Regions from separate parts of the Homo sapiens genome. Here region 1 is linked to region 2. The links are contacts of gene promoters, found by promoter capture Hi-C in blood cells and fetal thymus (Javierre and others, 2016). All regions are on one chromosome and are shown on one strand. Each heading gives the region's core, a stretch centred on a gene start or on the middle of the fragment in contact. The rest is flanking DNA. Distances are from core to core; before and after follow the strand shown.

Region 1 (2,700 bases), core at 2-2,501, 310 kb before region 2:
TCTTGATTTATTCCCTATCTTGAGCCAGGCACTAAATTTGCTTTGAGTTCACAGTTTTTCAGTCTGTTATTCTTGCAAACGTTCTGAGGCATCAACTGCAACTTTAATATGTTTTAATGCTATGGCAGATTCTAAGGATCAGAAGACTACTTTTCTGGCTTTTGGGCCAGACTCGGGTGTGACAATTTAATATAACTTATTAAACATAAATAATTGTAAACTAGTTCAACCATTGTGGAAGACAGTGTGGCGATTCCTCAGGGATCTAGAACTAGAATTACCATTTGACCCAGCCATCCCATTACTGGGTATATACCCAAAGGATTATAAATCATGCTGCTATAAAGACACATGCACACCTATGTTTATTGCAGCACTATTCACAATAGCAAAGACTTGGAACCAACCCGAATGTCCAACAATGATAGACTGGATTAAGAAAATGTGGCACATATACACCATGGAATACTATGCAGCCATAAAAAATTATCATGTCTTTTGTAGGGACATGGATGAAGCTGGAAACCATCATTCTCAGCAAACTATCGCAAGGACAAAAAACCAAATGCCACATATTCTCACTCATAGGTGGGAACTGAACAATGAGAACACTTGGACACAGGAAAGGGAACATCACACACTAGGGCCTGTTGTGGGGTGGGGGGAGGGGGGAGGGATAGCATTAGGAGATATACCTAATGTAAATGACCAGTTAATGGGTGCAGCACACCAACATAGCAGATGTATACATATGTAACAAACCTCCACGTTATGCATGTGTACCCTAGAACTTAAAGTATAATAAAAAAATAAAAAATAAATATACTTTTATACTTTTAAGAAAAATACCACAATGCCTTGGTTGTGTTTAGTGGATGTAAGAAAAGAGTGAATTCATTTCTGGAAATATCAAGATTGCAAACCTGTATTTCTTTGCAAGGGGATAAAAGCTTTTGCCCTGAGTAATCTTGAAGCATCCCTTAGATTTGTGTGATGCTCATGCTGCTGATGAACAAGTCACAGCAGGGGCATAAGAAGCGGTCACTGAAGGAGCAGCTGTTGAAGGATGGGGTACTCTAGTAACTTTTCATTTGGGGATAAGGAAGGAGTTCTTGTATCTTTTCTAGCTAGATAGAACACAAACACGTCACAGGTCACATTTATAAATAAAATTAAGAACATGTTGTTTCTTGTGAGCTCTTTCTAATCTGTCATGTTGTTTTCACTGAACTCTAGTTGTGTAACATCAATTTGAAGTAAAGCTAAAGAGGAAATGGATTATTTTGATGCCTGTGCTCCATCTCTCACCATCATCCCATGCTTGAATGGTTTGCATTTTATTGCAATGCCACCTTTCTAGAAAAGCTCAGGTCAACCTTGAGCTTAGCTAGCTCCATGATGAGGAAGTACAGAGGCCAATGAAAGTCAGTCCCCCCATTAGACCATGATTCTTAGCACTTCTGTTATAACTACCAGCACTTCTCTCCCTCCACCAGCTACCTCTCATAAGACACATATCTATTGAGTTCATTTTTTTTCTTCCATTGGCAAGTTAAGCTTTTTTTTTTAACAAAATAAACTTTATTTAAAAGTATTTTTTACAGACATTACAGCTTTTAAAGAAAAAGCTCTTTAGTTAACTGTGTATGGAAATGAAAAATATTAATAACATTAGTATAACAGACCTCTAAATATTAATACATTGGCAAAATAAAATGGACTTAAAATGCAAATGAATCTTAATGCTCCGCTATTCTCTGTAAGAATATTTACTTTCTGTTTTTCTTATTCTTTACAGGTGAGAATGACAATACAACTTTGTGTATTGTCTGGACCCCAATTTATAATGGATCCTTCTGGTAAGATCTGTTCAGAACATTTTCAACTGCTTGATACCCTACTTTTAATCAATTAGTATCTTGAGCATCAGTTTTCCTCTTCTTCAGTCCCTAAATTCACTGAATTTTCTGAGATCACACATTCAATTCTCATTGACATTCTGTACCATTAGCCAAGGTCTTCAGAAAATTTAGATGAGGGCAAAAACATCACATATAAATGAACAGTGTTTTAGGTCTCTGATCTTTATATATCACTGAAAACTAGGTGATGGATTTGCAATCCCCATGGCATTTATCTGTCAGTTCTTAATAGAATCACTACATTGCTTCCATATGCTCAGTTATTACACTTCCTCTGTTTCATTTTGGCCCATCTCCATGCTCTGTGACTATCTAGTGACTTTCCAGTGGAATGTTGGGAGCCTCACTGAAACTTGGCATGTTGTGAATTAAGTCCCTCTTTGTTTGGGATTGTACCAGCTCTACTAATAAAAATCATTCTGCTAAATGAATACATATCTCCAATTATTCTCTTTTTATTTTTTTGTCTTCATAACATAAAAACATTAGTTCAGTCAATTTGCTCATTTCAACCAAATGGGATAATCAGTTTTTCTATTTTTAAGTTGCCCACTGCCTGGATATCATCATAGGCATCAAGTACACATGTGGTTCTCAAAGCCTCTTCCTCCTTTTAGTAGATTTAATAGTTTCTGCCCCAAATTAATGTCCACCTGGAACCTCAGAACATGATTGTACTTGGAAAAAGGGTTATTGCCAATGTAATTAGTTAGGGATCAAGATGAGATAATACTGGATTAAGGTAAGCCCTAAGTCCAATGAGAGTCTCCTTATAAGA
Region 2 (2,700 bases), core at 81-2,580:
GCATCTTCTAGAAGGCTCTTCAGACCCCGCTTTCGCCAAACTCCCGGCGCCCTGCGCTTCCAGCCCAGCAGAGAAAAGTGTGAAAAGCAAGCCCGCGGTCGCCGTCGGCCTTGGCAGAGAAATCAAGAGGAGAAGGGAAGGGAACCGCTCAACTACCCTTCGGGAAACCAAGTTTCCAAATATGCCGCCCTCTTCCTGGTTTGCACAAACGGTTTAGGGCATTCGTTCCGGTTTCAGGGTGGGGTATGCCGTCGCTCCCCTCCTCCCCGCCCTGTGCTTTTAAAAGTTAGGAAACAAAAAAGAGCACCCATTGGCTGGAACCCCAAGGGAGGCAGATGCAGGAAGCACAGAGCTGCACCGCTAGGCGCAGCAAACAGCCGCGGCCGAAGGCGCGGGTCGCCGAGTGGGCGGCGGCCGCCCGCGAGGCGAGCCTGGAAGCAGTATCTGAACCGTCTGGAGGGTGACCAGGTTGCGCGGCGAGCTTTGCGACTGACACGGCCAATGCGCTAGTGGCTGAGTGGCCTTGGCCATGTAGGGACGCGGCGCGCACGCACACCCACAGACTCGCAGAAGTTCAGGTTCGCGCCGGAGAGAAGTTATAGGCAGGAAGGGGCCCACTCACCCGCGGCTCCGCGCTCCAGGTCTGCGCCACTCCGAGCCGGCCCAGACGTCGCCCCAGCCGGCGGCGGGAGCGCAGCGCCTTCGTCTCCCTCAGAAGAACCCTTTTCGCCCGCGCCGCCGCCGCGGCTGCAGCCTCCGTCGTCCACGGCCCCCGCCGCCTCTTCGGCGCCCAGTTTTCGCCGCTTCTTCTGAAGCTGTTGCTGCTTCTCGGCGCCGATCAGCGCCTCCACCGAGAAAGCGTGCGCCTTGAGGCTTAGCATGCTGCACGGCGAGCCCCTTCGCTTCTCGGCCATCCCCCCCGCCCCGCGCCCGCCCGCCCCTCTCTCATATACACTCACGCGGGCACACGCGCGCTCTCGCTCTTCCCCCACCAAAAACTAAAAGGCTCTCGGGGCCTCCCGAGATCTGCCCCCTTCCCCACCGCGGGCAAAAAACAGATTTGGCGTTTCCGCTTTCTCGCTTGTGTTGGGATCCAGGAACCGGCGACGCGCCGGCCAAGTCTCCTTTCCTGGGTCTCTCTCGCGCGCTCTCTCACTGATGCACTCCTTTGCTCCCACCCCTTCCACCTCCTCCTGCTGCTCCGAGGTCTGCCTCAACTGATGCGCCAGAGAGGACTAACATGGGTAAAAAACACTCTGTGGACACAAATTAGGGATTGTAATTGAAATTTGTTGCCTTGATCTGTCAGCACTTCCAGGCAGGAGAGCGGTGGGAAGAACTTGCTCATTAGTGTCAATAAAGCGGCGGGGGCGGAGCCCGGGTCCCTGTCCATCACCCAGACGGCCGGCCAATCAGGAGGCGCCGACTCCGCGCAGCCCGCGCCCACTTCCTTACAAGGTAGCGAAAAACCAGGAGTGAAAAGCGCCGCTGTCTGGCTTGGATGTGCCAGCCACACGGACGCTGAACTCTGTCTCTCTGACGTCCGTAGCTGAGTCCAGCCCCGTAGTCTCCAGCTTTCCTCACCAGGACCTGGAAAGGCGGAAGTTCCCGGCTTTAAACTAGACGTTCAACAAGTTAGAAAATCAGGAATCTTTCAAGGTTCCGTAAATTGCCGTCCCACTTCCGTATCGCTTAATGTTGCTACAACTCAGAATATTGGGAAGCTGGGAAGAATTCGCAGGCCCCTCCTTTCTCATTTAAATGTTCCTGCACTCAGTCTGCGCCAGATATGGCTTAGGCTTATTTAAACTTTACTCCGTGATTTTTTTCTTAGGGGATACCAGGTTAAGAAATATGTAAATCCTTTAGGAGTGCAAAATGTTACGTTAACGCTCAGTCCGTCATATAAATGTCAGAAAAAGCACGCCCTTTCCGCAGCCCACCTTTTCTTTCAAAGAGTGGTAGTTATTTTAAAACGTAGGTCATGGGATTTTCATTCTGTACGTCTTTAACGATATGGACAACTTTAAAACCCCTTAAAACTTCGCAAAATGAAATAAGTATGAAGACGCAATAAAATTCCCCATTTGAAAAACTTCTCTGTGATTTAAGTAAGTTTATATTTGTCCTACTGTTGACAATTTACAATCGTTACTTCAGGCTTTTAAGGAGTCCATTGATGTATTTAAAACAAATTTAATAAAATCAGTGCTTTTTAATTAAATGACACCAAACATATATATTTGTACAATTTGTTTTGTAGTTTCAACTCGACTTTTTGTTAGGATTAACAAATATATATATATATGTTTGGTATAAATAGAGCAAATCTCTTGTGGAATAAAATTAATCGTGCATATTACTCCATCTTTTGTATAAAATACACGGCAGGCCGGGCGCGGTGGCTCACGCCTGTATTCCCAGCACTTTGAGAGGCCTACGCGGGCGGATCACGAGGTCAAGAGATCGAGACCATCCTGGCCAACATGGTGAAACCCCCGTCTCTACTAAATAAATAAATAAATACAAATAGTAGCTGGGCGTGGTGGTGCACGCCTGTAGTCCCAGCTACTCGGGAGGCTGAGGCAGGAGAATCGCTTGAACTCGGGAGGCGGAGGTTGCAGTGAGCCCAGATCGCGCTACTGTACTCCAGCCTGGCGACGCAGCAAGACTCCGTCTCTGTCTCTCTCTCTGTCTCCA

Evidence for each region. The method cuts DNA at HindIII sites, captures the fragments that hold promoters and counts their contacts. A CHiCAGO score of 5 or more calls a contact.
Region 1: a contact is called between a fragment that was not itself captured here and the fragment with the promoter of TBX18 in region 2, in 1 of 17 cell types (endothelial precursors). The highest score is 5.3, in endothelial precursors.

The regions. Positions count from the first base shown.
Region 1 is chr6:84,451,469-84,454,168 of GRCh38, forward strand. All of the region lies in intron 3 of LINC01611 (long intergenic non-protein coding RNA 1611), which reads right to left. It overlaps LOC107986620 (a long non-coding RNA gene), which reads left to right. Exons shown (of 4, transcript XR_001744236.1): 2 at 1,799-1,859. Among named protein-coding and RNA genes, the nearest start is that of LINC01611, 22 kb to the right of the region's middle. The HindIII fragment of the contact is 607 bases long and covers 949-1,555 here.
Region 2 is chr6:84,763,268-84,765,967 of GRCh38, forward strand. It overlaps TBX18 (T-box transcription factor 18), which reads right to left and starts at 1,331. Exons shown (of 8, transcript NM_001080508.3): 1 at 623-1,331. The coding sequence starts at 914. All of the region lies in intron 1 of LOC124901353 (a long non-coding RNA gene), which reads left to right. RefSeq lists enhancers at 64-648, 649-1,232, 1,244-1,538. The HindIII fragment of the contact is 3,607 bases long and covers 1-2,700 here.